Linked DNA regions of Homo sapiens: region 1 is linked to region 2. Evidence: promoter capture Hi-C in human tissues and cell types (Jung and others, 2019). All regions are on one chromosome and are shown on one strand. The core of a region is centred on a gene start or on the middle of the fragment in contact, and the rest is flanking DNA. Distances in the headings are between cores, read along the strand shown. Region 1 overlaps LOC124903507 (a long non-coding RNA gene). Region 2 holds the start of RBPMS2 (RNA binding protein, mRNA processing factor 2).

Region 1 (7,230 bases), core at 1,753-4,252, 65 kb after region 2:
CCCAGGAGGCGAAGGCTGCAGTGGACGAGATTGTGCCACTGCACTCCAACGTGGGTGACAGAACGAGACCCTGTCTCAAAAAACAAAAAAACCAGGCTGGGCGTGGTGACTCCCGCCTGTAATCCCAGCACTTTGGGAGGCTGAGGTGGGCGGATCACGAGGTCAGGAGATCGAGACCATCCTGGCTAACACGGTGAAACCCCGTCTCTACTAAAAATACAAAAGATTAGCCAGGCGTGGTAGCGGGCACCTGTAGTCCCAGCTACTTGGGAGGGAGGCTGAGGCAGGAGAATGGCATGAACCCAGGAGGCAGAGCTTGCAGTGAGCCGAGATTGCGCCACTGCACTCCAGCATGGGCTACAGCGCGAGACTGTGTCTCAAAAAACAAAAACAAAAAAACAAGCTGTTATATAAATAGAATCATACAGTATGTAACCTTTTTAAAATCAGGGCCAGGCTCGTTGGCTCATGTCTGTAATCCCAGCACTTTGGGAGGATGCGGCAGGAGGATTGCTTGATTCCAGGAGTTTCAGACCAGCCTGGGCAACATAGTGAGATCCCATCTCTACAAAAAATAAAAAAATTAGCCTGATGTGGTGCACACTTATAGTCCCAGCTACTTGTGAGGCTGAGGTGGGAGGATCACTTGAGATTGGAAGTTAGAGGTGAGGCTGCAGTGAACTGTGATCATGCCACTACATGCCAGTCTGGGCCACAGAGTGAGACCCTGTCTCAAAACAACAACAAATAACCAGCATAATTCCTTGGAGAGTCATCCAAGTTGCTGTGTGTTGATAGTTCATTCCTGTTTGTTGCTGAGCAATATTCCATGGTGTGGATGCACCATGGTTTCTTTAACCATTCACCTACTGAAGGATACCTGAGCTAATTTTAAGTTTTTGCTATTATTATGGATAAAGCTGCTATGAACATATATGTACCGGTTTTTGTGTGAACATAAGTCTTCATTTCTCTGGGATAAATGCCCAGGCATGCAATTTCTTGGTCATGTGGTAGCTGCATGTTTAGTTTTTTAAGAAAATGCCAAACTGTTTTCCAGAGTGACTATGTTACTTTTTTTTTTTTTTTTTTTTTTGAGACAGAGTCTCGCTCTGTCGCCCAGGCTGGGATGCAGTGGAGCAATCTTGGCTCACTGCAACCTCCACCTCCTGGGTTCAAGTGAGTCTCTTGCCTCAGCCTCCTGAGTAGCTGGGACTACAGGTGTGTGCCACCATGCCTGGCTAATTATTGTATTTTTAGTAGAGGCGGGGTTTCACTATATTGGTCAGGTTGGTCTTGAACTCCTGATCTTGTGATCTGCCCGCCTCGGCCTCCCAAAGTGCTGGGATTACAGGCGTGAGCCACTGCACCCAGCCTGTGTTACTATTTTTTAAAGACTAGAGAGCATGTTTGTGTGCTGAAGGGGGAGATTTAGATTTTAGGAACTAGGTCCTTGAAGATGGGAGAGAGGAAGTTCCATAGGTTTTGCCGTGGGATTGGCTAGTTTTTATTGGCTAGTTTTTTTTTTTTTTTTTTTTTTTTTTTTTTTTTTTTTTATAGACAGGGTCATCCAGGCTGGAGTGCAGTGGCATGATCACAGCTCACTGTAGCCTCAACCTCCTGGGCCCAAGCTATCCTCCTACCTCAGCCTCCCAAGTAGCTGGGACTACAGGGGTGTATCAGCACGCCTGGCTAATTTTTTACATTTTTTTGTAGAGATGGGGGTCTCTTTACATTGCCCAGGCTGGTCTCAAACTCCTGGGCTCAAGCAATCTGCCTGCCTTGGCCTCCCAAACTCCTGGGATTATAGGTGTGAGCCACTGTGCCTGGCCAGGATTGGCTAGTCTTTAGCAAAGGGACATCCACTTCTCAGAGCACTAGGAGGAGACAGATGTAAGTAGGCGGAGATGCAGATGGGTTTGTAGGCTGTGGTAGGAATGACAGGGTATTTCCTATTGCTTCTATTTCCTTAGTAACATGGTGGCTAGGTCATCAGCTAAGATGAGAGGGGTAGAGGTTTTGCAGAGAGAGCCTAGGGAAAAAATTCTTCTTGAGAGTGGAAAAGCAAACTTAATGGGGAAACGTAGTAGGAATTACCCAGCAGTATTGACAGTCCGTTTGAGGTTAGGATCATGAACATGAGTGAAGATAACCTGCCTGGTATTGTGATTTTGCTGTAGCAAAAGCACTCGGAAAGCAAATGGTTGAATTTATGTGGAGTAGGGCTTTGCCAGGCAAGCACAATGGGAGGAGACAGAGGGAAGGAGTAGTTATAGTGATGGATGATAGACAAGCTAGAAAAGGCTGGGCGTGGTGGCTCATGCCTGTAATCTCAGCACTTTGGGAGGCCAAGGCGGGCAGATCATTTGAGCCCAGGAATTCAAGACCAGCCTGGGCAATATGGCGAAACCCCATCTCCACCCAAAATACAAAAATTAGCTGGGTATGGTGGCATGTGCCTGTAGTCCCAGCTACTTGGGAGGCTGAGGCAGGAGAATCCAGGAGGCAGAGGTTGCAGTGAGCCGAGATGGCGCCACTGGACTCCAGACTAGGTGACAGAGCAAGACCCTGTCTTAAAAAAAAAAAAAAAAGCCGGGCACGGTGACTCACGCCTGTAATCCCAGCACTTTGGGAGGCCGAGGCAGGTGGATCACAAGGTCAGGAGTTCAAGACCAGCCTGGCCAAGATGGTGAAATCCTGTCTTTACTAAAAATACAAAAATTAGCCAGGTGTTGTGATGGGTGCTTGTGATCCCAGCTACTCGGGAGGCTGAGTCAGAGAACTGCTTGAATCTGGGAGGCGGAGGTTGCAGTGAGCAGAGATCACACCACTGCACTCCAGCCTGGGCAACAGAGCAAGACTGTCTCAAAAAAAAAAAAAAAAGAAAAGAAAAAAAGAAGCTAGAAAAGAAGGGATCTGGGAGCTGAGATTGCACAATTATACTCCATCCTCAGCGACAGAGTGCAAAAAAAAAAAAAGACCGGGCACGGTGGCTCACGCCTGTAATCCCAGCACTCTGGGAGGCCGAGGCAGGTGGATCACAAGGTCAAGAGATCAAGACCATCCTGGCTAACACGGTGAAACCCCGTCTCTACTAAAAATACAAAAAATTAGCTGGGCATGGTGGCGGGCGCCTGTAGTCCTAGCTACACGGGAGGCTGAGGCAGGAGAATGGCATGAACCCAGGAGGCAGAGCTTGCAGTGAGCCGAGATCGCGCCACTGCACTCCAGCCTGGGTGACAGAGTGAGACTCCATCTCAAAAAAAAAAATAAAAAAAAAATAAAAAGAAAAGAAGAGATGTGAGTCAAAATTAGGACTACTATTATATTATTAAAAAGATAAAAGATGGTCAGGCATGGTGGCTCATGCCTGTTATCTCAGCACTTTGGGAGGCTGAGGTGGGTGGATCACTTGAGGTCAGGAGTTCAAGACCAGCCTGGCCAACATGGAGAAACCCTGTCTCTACTAAAAATACAAAAACTAGATGGGTGTGGTGGTGGGTGCCTGTAATCCCAGCTACTTGGGAGGCTGAAGCAGGAGAATCACTTGAGCCCAGGAGGTGGAGCTTGCAGTGAGCTGCAATCACGTCACTGCACTCCAGCCTGGACAACAGAGTGAAACTCCATCTCAAAGAAAAAACAAGACAAAAGACAAGTGTTGGTCTGGATGCAGAGAAAAGGGAACCCTTGCACCCTGTTGGTGGGAATGTGAATTAGTATAGCCTTTATGGAAAACAGTATGGCGGTTCCTCAAAACATTAAGAATAGTCTGGGCATGGAGGCTCATGCCTATAATCCCAGCACTTTGGGAGGCCAAGGCAGGCAAATCACAAGGTCAGGAGTTTGAGACCAGCTTGGCCAACATGGTGAAACCCTGTCTCTACTAAAAATACAAAAAATTAGCTGGGCGTGGTGGCGTGTGCCTGTAATCTCAGCTACTCCGGAGGCTGAGATAGGAGAATCGCTTGAACCTGGGAGGCGGAGGTTGCAGTGAGCTGAGATCGCTCCGCTGCACTCCAGCCTGGGTGAGAGAGTGAGACTCCATCTCAAAATAAAAAATAAAAAACATTAAGAATAGAACTACTTTATGATCCAGGAATCCCACTACTGGGTATATATCCAAAGGACCTGAAATTAGCATGTCAAAGAGATTTGTATTCCCATGTTCATTGCAGCATTATTCACAACAGCCAACACATGGAAACAACCACAGTGCCCAACAACACACGAATGAATAAAGAAAAATGTACATATAGACAACGGGGTACTATTCAGCCTTAAAAAAAGAAGGAAACTGTATCATTTGCGACAACATGGATGAACCTGGGAGATGTTATGTTATGTGAAATAAACCAGGCACAAAACAAGAAATACTGCATGATTTCACTTACATGTAGAGTGTGAAAAAAATCAAGCTTAGACCAAGAATGGTGGCTCAGACCTGTAATCCCATTCATTGCTTTGGGAGGCTGAGACAGGAGGATCCCTTGAGACCAGGAGTTTGAGACCAGCCTGGGCAACACAGGGAAACCCTGTCTCTGGAGAAAAGAGTAAAAAACAATTAGCTAGGCATGGTGGCATGTGCCTGTGGTCCTAGCTACTCGGTAGGCTGAGGCAGGAGGATCCTTTCAGGCCAGGAATTTGAGGCTCCAGTGAGCTATGCTGGTTCCACTGCACTCCAGCCTAGGCAAAAGAATGAGACCCTGTGTCAAATAAACAAAACAAAAAGTCAAACTCATAGAAATAGAGAGTAAAATGATGGTCACCAGAGGCCGGGGGCAGGTAGAGGAATTGGAAAAGTGTTAGTCAAAGGACACAAATTTTCAGTTAGACAAGAGGAGTAAGTTCAAGAGATCTATGTTACATCATGATGGCTAGAGTTAACAACATAGTGTATATTTGCAAAAAAATGATAAGGATGTAAGATAATAAATATGTTAAAAAGCTTGATTTGGCCGGGTGCAGTGGCTCATGCCTGTAATCCCAGCACTTTGGGAGACTGAGGTGTGCGGATCACTTGAGGTCAGGAGTTCGAGACCAGCCTGGCCAACATGGCAAAACCCCGTCTCTACTAAAAATACAAAAATTAGCCAGGCTTGGTGGCGCAAGCCTGTAATCCCAGCTATTCAGGAGGCTAAGGCAGGAGAATCGCTTGAACCTGGGAGGTGGAAGTTGCAGTGAGCCAAGATCGTGCCACTGCACTCTGGCCTGGGTGACAGAGCGAGACTCCGTCTCAAAAAAAAAAAAAAAAAAAAAAAAATTTAATCATTGATTAACTCTTCTACAATGTATACATATATGAAAACGTGATGTACACCATAAATGTATACAATCTTTGTTAAAATTTTAAAAATATGCATAAAGAAATAATGATTTTTGTGGGAACTATTTTAACATAATTTCACACTTATGGTTCTCGACTACTTTTCTAATAAACTACTATCTCTCTTTGCCAAGGGAAACAGAAAAAAACAGTATCATTAGCTGGCAGTGGACTCAAATAGGAGAGTTTCAGTTATTCCAAATTTCTGTGGCTTACCATATAATTCAGTCCTATGTAAAAATCTGCAATTGGTAACAGTGACTACTGAGTTTGGACCCAAGTATTTGCACTAAAGCTTTGACACATTAGATAGGTTCCTTTCGTTTTCTTTTTTCTTTTTTTCTGAGACGGAGTCTCACTCTGTTGCCCAGGTTGGAGTGCAGTGGTGTGATCTCAGCTCACTGCAAGTTCCGCCTCCCAGGTTCACGCCATTCTCCTGCCTCAGCCTCCCGAGTAGCTGGGACTACAGGTGCCCTCCACCACGCCCGGCTAATTTTTTGTATTTTTAGTAGAGACGGGGTTTCACCATGTTAGCCAGGATGGCCTCGATCTCCTGACCTCATGATCCGCCCGCCTCGGCCTCCCAAAGTGCTGGGATTACAGGCGTGAGCCACAACGCCCGGCCTCTTTTGTTTTTTAAGTTGAGGCAGGGTCTTAGTCTGTCACCCAGGCTGGAATGCAGTGGTGCAGTCACAGCTCACTGCAGCCTTGACCTCCCAGGCTCAAGCGATCCTCCTACTGCAGCCTCCCGAGTAGTTGGAACCACAGGTGTGTGTCCCCACGCTGGCTTTTTTTTAAAATTTTTATAGGGTCTCCTCATTACCCACAGCTAATCTTAAACTCCTGGGCTCAAGTGATCCTCCCACTTCGGCCTCTCAAAGTGTTGAGATTATAGGAATGAGTTGCCACGCTCAGTCATAGACAGGTTACTTTCTCATCTCTCTTAACAAGTTTCTTCCTCTTAAAAAAAACAAACAAAAAACTTAGGGCTAATGAATAGTGAGGAATTAGTGAGGTCAAGCGTTAAGCTCCTGATACAGGTCAAAGACTTGTTGAAAGGTTTAATTAAGGCAAAGGTTATGGTTGGAGAGTCAATATTTTGGACGTGAAATGATTTTTGGTGAAAACAAAGTTGAGGGTGTGTTAGCAGCTACAGTGGAGTGCTGAAAATCTTACCGGAGATGAGAAAGTCGAGGAAGTGAGAGGAGCGTGGCTGAGAGGCCATCATGTGGACCTTGAGCTCACCAAATATGACAAAATTTGGGGCGGAGAGGCAGCAAGCCATGAGCCAAATAAGGGGCATCAACCAGGAGGCTGGCTAATGACATTAACCAAGATAGTATATCTAGAGGGTGAAGCCCCAATGGAACAGGGATTTTGTGGGAGGGAGGGGAAGATAAACACTGGTCTAGAAATGGCATTGGGATGGAGAGGAATACACTTACCCACTTCTGACACTGAGGCACGTGAGAATGAGAAACAGAATTCACCTAATAGAGCTGCTGGAGAAGCAGCGGTTAGTGGATAGCCAAGTTTCAGATAAAGCAAGGATGCTGAGAAAAGGCTGAGGATGTGGAAGAGTTTGCTGATCACACGTTGCAGAAGGCACAGTGGGAGGGTATGGTTAGGAGCAGGAAGCAGAGTCTGATAGATTGCCAGTGTGAGGGCAATGGATGAGAAGGGACTTGAACCTGTGGTGGTGACTGGGGTAGACAGGGATAGAGGGGTGATGGGATATAGTGCTGTTGTAGAAGTTTCTGTGATGATAGACATGTTCCATATGTATACTGTGTAATACTGTGGCTGCTAGCCACATATGGCTATTAAGCATATGAAATGTGGCTAGTGGGCCGGGCGCGGTGGCTCATGCCTGTAATTCCCAGCACTTTGGGAGGCCGAGGCAGGTG
Region 2 (6,724 bases), core at 2,664-5,163:
AAAGGTTTATTAAACACCTACTACTGAAAATGCCCACCATCATCTGCTCCTTGCTGGAGGCCAGGGGGCTGCAGAGGTTAAGGAGTTCTACTCACTCAGCAGGGTTTACAGCCACTCCTTGGAGTCAGAAAGCTTCCCATGTGGTAGGTGAGACTTCAAAACAAGGTATTCCCAGGTTCAACACGACACAGAGAAGGCACTCTGAGAGCACAGGGGAGAGAGAATGGGTACTGGGAAAGGTCTGGAAGCTGGGGGTGGAGAGTGAGGATGGGAGGATTCCAGACAAAAGGAATAGAAATTCGAGAAGCTCAGAGGTGATATGGAGCATGACAGTGGGGGAGGCCTGGGGCACTGAAGAGATTACTAGAGGCTACACTACTAGGTCATAGCTGGGGAGACAGAGATATAAGTTCCTACCCTTCAGATGTCTGAAAGAGTTGTACACCCCAAACTCCTCTCTCTAGCCTCTTTCACATCAGCTTCTGGTCAGCACCAATGGGTACGCCTGACTACTCATGAAGGTGCGGGCTGGGTGGGAGCTTTGTGTTTATATGATCTCCAAATCCATGTGAGATTGGAGATTCTGCCATTTCAGGGGCCATAGGGGTGCACAGAGAGGGAAAAGACAGTTGTTGCCTCCAAAGTGCTTAAGGGCTGGTCACACATACAGGAAACTTTCTGAGGCATTAAGAATGCTCATATAAGAGGGCGGGCTCATGCCTGTAATCTCAGCACTTTGAGAGGCCAAGGTGAGCAGATTACTTGAGGCCAGGAGTTCAAGACCAGCCTGGCCAACACGGTGAAACCTTGTCCCTACTAAAAATACAAAAATTAGCCAGGTGTGACAGCGAGTGTGGTGGCAGGCACCTGTAATCCCAGCTACTCAGGAGGCTGAGGCACGAGAACTGCTCGAACCTGGGAGATGGAGGATGCACTGCACTCAAGCCTGGTGACATAGTGAGACTCCGTCTCAAAGAAAAAGAAAAAAAAAAGAATCCTCATATAAAGTTTGCCTATGAAGGCAAAAGAGAAAATAAACTGGAAATAATACAAATATCTAACAAGAGACAGGTTAAATAAGTAATGGCAGTCTAATAAGGGGTAAGCATTTACTACAAATTATGAAGAACTTAAGAAGAAATACAGGCTGGGTGTGGTGGCTCACGCCTATAATACCAGCACTTTGGGAGGCCAAGGTGGGAGGATCACTTGAGCCCAGGAGTTCAACACCAGCTTGGGACAACATAATGAGAGGCCAGTCTCTTAAAAAAAAAAAAAAAAAATTAGCTGGGCGTGGTGTTGCACCTGTAATCACAGCTACCTGGGAGGCTGAGGTAGAAGGATCACTTGAGCCCAGGAGTTCAAGGCTGGAGTGAGCTGTGATTGTGCCACTGCACTCCAGCTTGGGTGACAGAGCAAGATCTTTTTTCTAAAAAAAGAAAAGAAGGCCGGGCGCGGTGGCTCACGCCTGTAATCTCAGCACTTTGGGAGGCTGATGGGGGCAGATTACAAGGTCAAGAGATCAAGATCATCCTCACCAACATGGGGAAACCGTCTCTACTAAAAATACAAAAGTTAGCTGGGCGTGGTTGTGCGTTCCTGTAGTCCCAGCTACTCAGGAGGCTGAGGCAGAATAGCTTGAAACTGGGAGGTGGAGGTTGCAGTGAGCCGAGATCGCATCACTGCACTCCAGTCTGGCAACAGAGCAAGACTGCATCTCAAAAAAGCCCCCAAAACAAAAAAAAAAAAAATGAAAAAAGAAAAGAAATGTAGTGATGGGGGTCAGTTGTGGCCCCTGTGTCATTTGTCACCTTTTTGGGCCTTAGCTCTCCCATCTATGGAGAAAACAGAGACCAGAATGGAGAAGAAGGGTGACCAGAATTACAAGATGAGAGGCTCTTCTTTGAAAAATTCAAATTAACCATATAATGGCTGAGTTCAGAAATCTGGCCAGGCTCCTTCTCCTGGAAAAAGCATGGGAAAGGCAGGATCTTGAGGGAAGGGAAGATTTTGGATTGATTAGGGGGAGCGGGGGAGGAAGAGGAAGAGGAAGAGTATTCCTGGGCCAAAGTTAGAGACAAACCTGATAGGAAGACCTATTCTAGGGGAGGGGATGGTGATCAAGCCCACAGCCAGATTGGACTGAGGCCTGTGGAGGATGGTAGGGGTATCTGAGGGTTCCCAAGGTTGGTTCTATCTGGAGATGCCTGAGGCTGGAGGCATCTTAAAAACTCTGGGTAAAGGTCTGGCTCCTACAGGCAGCAGCTCCCTCTTCATAGGGCCTGAGCCAAGTGTTGGCAACAGGGCTGATGGGAAACCAGGGTGCTCTTGGCCTTGCCACCAGCAGAAAATGGTCCCCAGCCCACAGTAGGTGCTCAATAATTATTTACTAAAGGAATGAGTATATCATTGGAAAGACATTGCCCATCTCTAGGCCTCAATTTATCTGTGAGATGGCAGGTCAGGATGGAGATTATAATTTACTGGGAAGACTAAGCCACAGCACAGTGATCCTGTGGTGCTAGTCCTACCTAATTCAGGAGGTCGACACACAGAGGTTCTGGGGGCTCAGGCACTTGTCCACGGTCTGGGATCCTAACCAGTCCGTGACTGCAAATCCAGCTTTTCTTTTTTCTTTTCTTTTTTTGAGACGGAGTTTCGCTCTTGTTGCCCTGGCTGGAGTGCAATGGCAAGATCTCGGGTCACCGCAACCTCCGCCCCGTCCAGGAGAAGGGGCACTGAGGAGGGACCCAGTTCTCCCGCGGCTCTGCCGGATTCAGGCTGCAGCGCTTCCAGCGCTCCCCGAGGTGGGTGCGGGTTTCTACTGTGGCAGCAGGGCGGGCCCCCATCGGCTGGGTTTTCAAATAGAAGAGAAAACCGACCCAGAGGCCGCGCCCTACTGACCTGCGCGGGGGTGCGGGGGGAGTCACGACGACCTCCCCCACCTCCCCCAGCCTCTAGGCTATTACATCCGTCCCCAGCCTTCGGGCTCAGAATAGGAGGCAGGGAAAGGTGTGAGGGGCACTGAGGTCGGGGGAGGAGCGAGAAGACCCGAAAGCCAGGCGTGTTGAGGGCAAGGTGGGCAACAGAACCTTCTTGGTCATTCGAGGCAGCCCTCGCTAATGACCATTGGGGTCCCAACACTCGAATCCCCACCTAAGTCCTATTCAGATAGTGACTGGGAGTGGGAAGGGAGTTTGAGATCCTAAGTCCCACCCTCTGGGCTGGGAGCCTGAGGCCAGAGAGGGGAAGTGATTTCCTCAAGGTCACTCAGCAAAACAGCGCCCAGCCCGGGCCAAAGCTCAGGTGTCTCCCAACCCCCTCCCCCCGGCCATCACCCCCAGAACTCGGTCCCCCGGAGCTGAGGTCTGCGCGACTGGATTTAGGGGCAGAATGAGTGCGTCGGGAACCCCAAAACCCTAGATCAAGATACAAGGGGAGTCGACGGCCCGGAAACCTCGCTGCGGGTGCCCTAAGCGCGAGGCCGCCCGGGCAGGGCCGCCCAGGGACCGGGGCGCTGGGTGCGGGGCACGGGGCTCCACCTCCCGCGGGCTGGGGCGCGCAGCGCGCGGCCCCTTTAAGAAAGTTCGCCGGGCGAGTTCATCAAAGTTTAAAAACTCGCCGTGGAGAAGGGCGCGGGGGAAGAGGAGAGAGGGAGAGCGCTGACCCAGGCGAGAGAGAGGGGAAAGGCCCGGCCGGAGGCCGGCGCCCCGCGGCCGGGGCCGGGGCGAGCCCACGGTGGGCGGTGGGGATTGGCTGCGCGTTCCCCCGGAGACCGCGCGGCGGGCGGGGGAGGGGGCTGGCCGGGCCCCAGCTGAGGCCGGTTCCGGCCCCGCCCCCCGCCGCCGGCGCCCGCCCCCTCCCCCGGCGCCCGCCCCCCGCCGCCGCTGCCGCCGCCGCCGCCGCCGCGGCGCACTCGCCGGTCGCAGTGAAAAGGCGGAGGCGGCGGCCCCTCCGGCTCCCACTGCCTCCCCCGCCGCACCCCCTCCCCACCTTCCGCACCCGCCAAACTTGATGTGACCCTGGCCCGACGCGGAGGCTGCCCCTCTCACTGCCCCGTGGGTCCCCCGCCACCCGCTCCGCACCCGCGAGCGCACCGCTCCCCGCGCCCCTTCCCACTTCCCGCGGGGCCGGCGCCGCGCTCGCCCTCGCGTTCCTTCCCGCCGCCCCCTCCCCCGCACCATGAGCAACCTGAAGCCGGACGGCGAGCACGGCGGCAGCACCGGCACCGGCTCCGGCGCGGGCTCCGGCGGCGCCCTGGAGGAGGAGGTGGGTCTGTGGCCCCGGGACTTGCCGGGTGAAGCGCACGCCAGGCGGGCGCGGGAGAGGGCGAGCGGGGCCTGCCGCGCCTCGCGGGGCCGGGGTGGCCATCGCTCCCGGCGCCTTCCCGCCGCTGCCCTCTCGCCCGGGTAGGAGCGGCCCGTGTCCGCGGGCGGGAGCGTGCGGCCTGGACTGCCCCGCCGGACAGGCATTGTCTCCCCGCCCTCTCGGGCTCGAGGCGGGCCGCGCGCGCCGGCCGCCGTCCGGGCGTCCCGCGGTGGGCGAGATGCGCCGCGTCCGTTCCATGCCTGCCGCCCGCGCGCCCCTTGCTCCCCACCCCGTAGCCGCTCGCCGCCCTCCTCCGAGGCGCACCTCCTGCGTGGCCAGGACCCCGCCTCGGCGGCACGGAGCGGAGCGGGATTAGCACGGCCCGAGGGCGGCACCCTCACTCCACTGCCTTTTCCGCCCTGACCCCCTCCCCGTGACCTTGGAGGCCTGGGCCGGCCGGCTCCTCGGTTCCTGCGAGCTGTTGTCATGGGGGTGGGCGGGCTTTCTTCACAGCCCCAGAACCTGGGCTTTGGCAGAGGTGAGCCCACAATTTAATTAGTTTGGAAGATGACTAAAGACACTCAGTTCGTCCTTCTCCTCTCTCTGGGTTTGTCCTGGCAACCAAGCCAGGACCCCAAAGCTGGCCTGGGTGGGATCCTGCCAGGAGGGGCGAAATCATCTCGTCCACCGGCCATGTGCGAAAGGGAGGGAGTGTAAGGCGGCTCCGTGGAACCACCAGCAGCTGGGTGGTTAATGGATGGTAGGGAGGATGTGTGTGCGGGGTGGGGTGCTGGATAAAAGCCTCAAAGATATCAGTGAATAGGGACGAGGAGCTAGGCTGGCGGAGACAAGAACTGGAGTAGAAGGGGACAGGCTTCGCAGGGCCTCTGGCCTCTGCTGCGTCATTCTAGGGGTGAGAGAGCCTTCCTGCCCCTGCCCTGGCATGTTCTCGCCCAGGAAACCAAGGGCTGGTTATCCACCTTGGGCGCCCTTCCCCTTGGCCTGGGGGAGAAACCGCAGAGCCCCTGGTGTGGACTGGTGTTGCCTCCTCCCCTTGTGCTGGGGGTTGGTGCAGAATGGCGCCGGTGGCCCTCGGCTGGGCTGGGCTCAGCGCCGCCAGCTCCCACTCGGCTATTCAGAGACCTTCAGCCAGCCCCAGTCGATGACAATCTAGGTTTGGATCTCCACTTTTTGGCGGAAGGGGAAGGGAAGAATATACAACTGTGACATCTGTCCACTAATGACTTAAGTGTGGTGGATTTGTTTGGGCTCCAGAGGCCTTGCCCTCCTTGTACCTTGATGCCAAAAGGCCCTTGGCTTTGGGGATCTTGCCCCCATCCTGACTCTACCTGGCTGTTAGAATCTCCCTTGACAGTTGGGGAGGGTGACAGGGTTGCTAGCGTACTTGGAGTCTCTGCTTGGCCCCCTGCTGTGGGCTGAAACTGGGGGAGAGCATGTCTCCTATAAAGCTGAATGGGGACCCAGAACCCCACTTCTGCTAAAGGGTCTACTTCAGTGGGGACTTCACACTGCCCAAGAGGCTGGTACTGGGCAAACCCTCAGACCCACTGCTGTTGGGTGAGAAGGGTGACCCATGTGGCCATTCTAAGTCTTGAAAAAAGCATTTGAGGTTTTAGCCACTCCTTTCTAAGTACCTTTTCTGGGAAAGAGGGCAGGATTCTCAAAAAGTGGAATCCCTACTATTCCTCCTTGGGAGTTGAGATGGCCTGCGGCCCTATGGTGGTTCCAAATCCGCGCACTTGGAAAAGGGCATGGTGGGCTCGCGTTTAGCAGAGGTCCAGAACAAAGGGTTCTGAGGGTCTCCTGGAGCCCAGTGTCTGTCTGGTCTGGTAAGGGAAAGGGTTATTCCCCAAGCCCTGGCCTAGTCTTCTGAATAGTGGGCCATGAGCCCCTGTGCTGGTGGCTCCATCTTGGATTGGTGGTGTAGGCTGGAACTGGAATCCTCCCTGTAGTTTAGATGCTCCCTAAGCAGTCAGTTCTGCAGCCCCTAAGAGCAACCATCTGGAGAATCAGCGTTAGCAGTGGTTTACTCCCATGGCTGACACAGGTGGCTTCTTCCCAGTCAACTCTTGGAGACTAGCGAGAGCAAGCCCAGGAAACCAAGGAATGCTGCTGCACGCCGTAAGACCTCAATTCCTAAAGGCGCTGGGTCACTGGCGAAGGGAGTGTATTTTTCATGGTTCTGGGAGTTATCAGTGAGGTTGCTTGTCCTGAACTGCTTTGGATAGCCTTGACTCTGCCTGCTTGACTACCTTACCTATAGGCTTTATCCATGTCATACGCATTAAGTTTTCTTTCTGGACCCAGGGGTTAAGGATACAAGTGAAAATTCTCAGCCTAGGAGGTCGGAAGGACTTGCCAGGAAGTGGTGGTAGGTGAAATGCAATGATAGATA

Evidence for each region. The method cuts DNA at HindIII sites, captures the fragments that hold promoters and counts their contacts. A contact is called where the count stands out against the background at its distance.
Region 1: a fragment that was not itself captured here is called in contact with the fragment with the promoter of RBPMS2 in region 2 in 8 of the 25 tissues and cell types used here (IMR-90 fibroblasts, bladder, heart right ventricle and 5 more).

Annotation. Positions count from the first base shown.
Region 1 is chr15:64,705,912-64,713,141 of GRCh38, reverse strand. LOC124903507 (a long non-coding RNA gene) reads right to left here. Exons shown (of 3, transcript XR_007064679.1): 2 at 437-565. Among named protein-coding and RNA genes, the nearest start is that of OAZ2, 6.2 kb to the right of the region's middle. RefSeq lists a silencer at 1,866-2,066. The HindIII fragment of the contact is 4,561 bases long and covers 722-5,282 here.
Region 2 is chr15:64,772,778-64,779,501 of GRCh38, reverse strand. It overlaps RBPMS2 (RNA binding protein, mRNA processing factor 2), which reads left to right and starts at 3,913. Exons shown (of 8, transcript NM_194272.3): 1 at 3,913-4,269. The coding sequence starts at 4,183. RefSeq lists enhancers at 2,360-3,205, 3,206-4,052 and a silencer at 3,488-3,737. The HindIII fragment of the contact is 13,175 bases long and covers 1-6,724 here.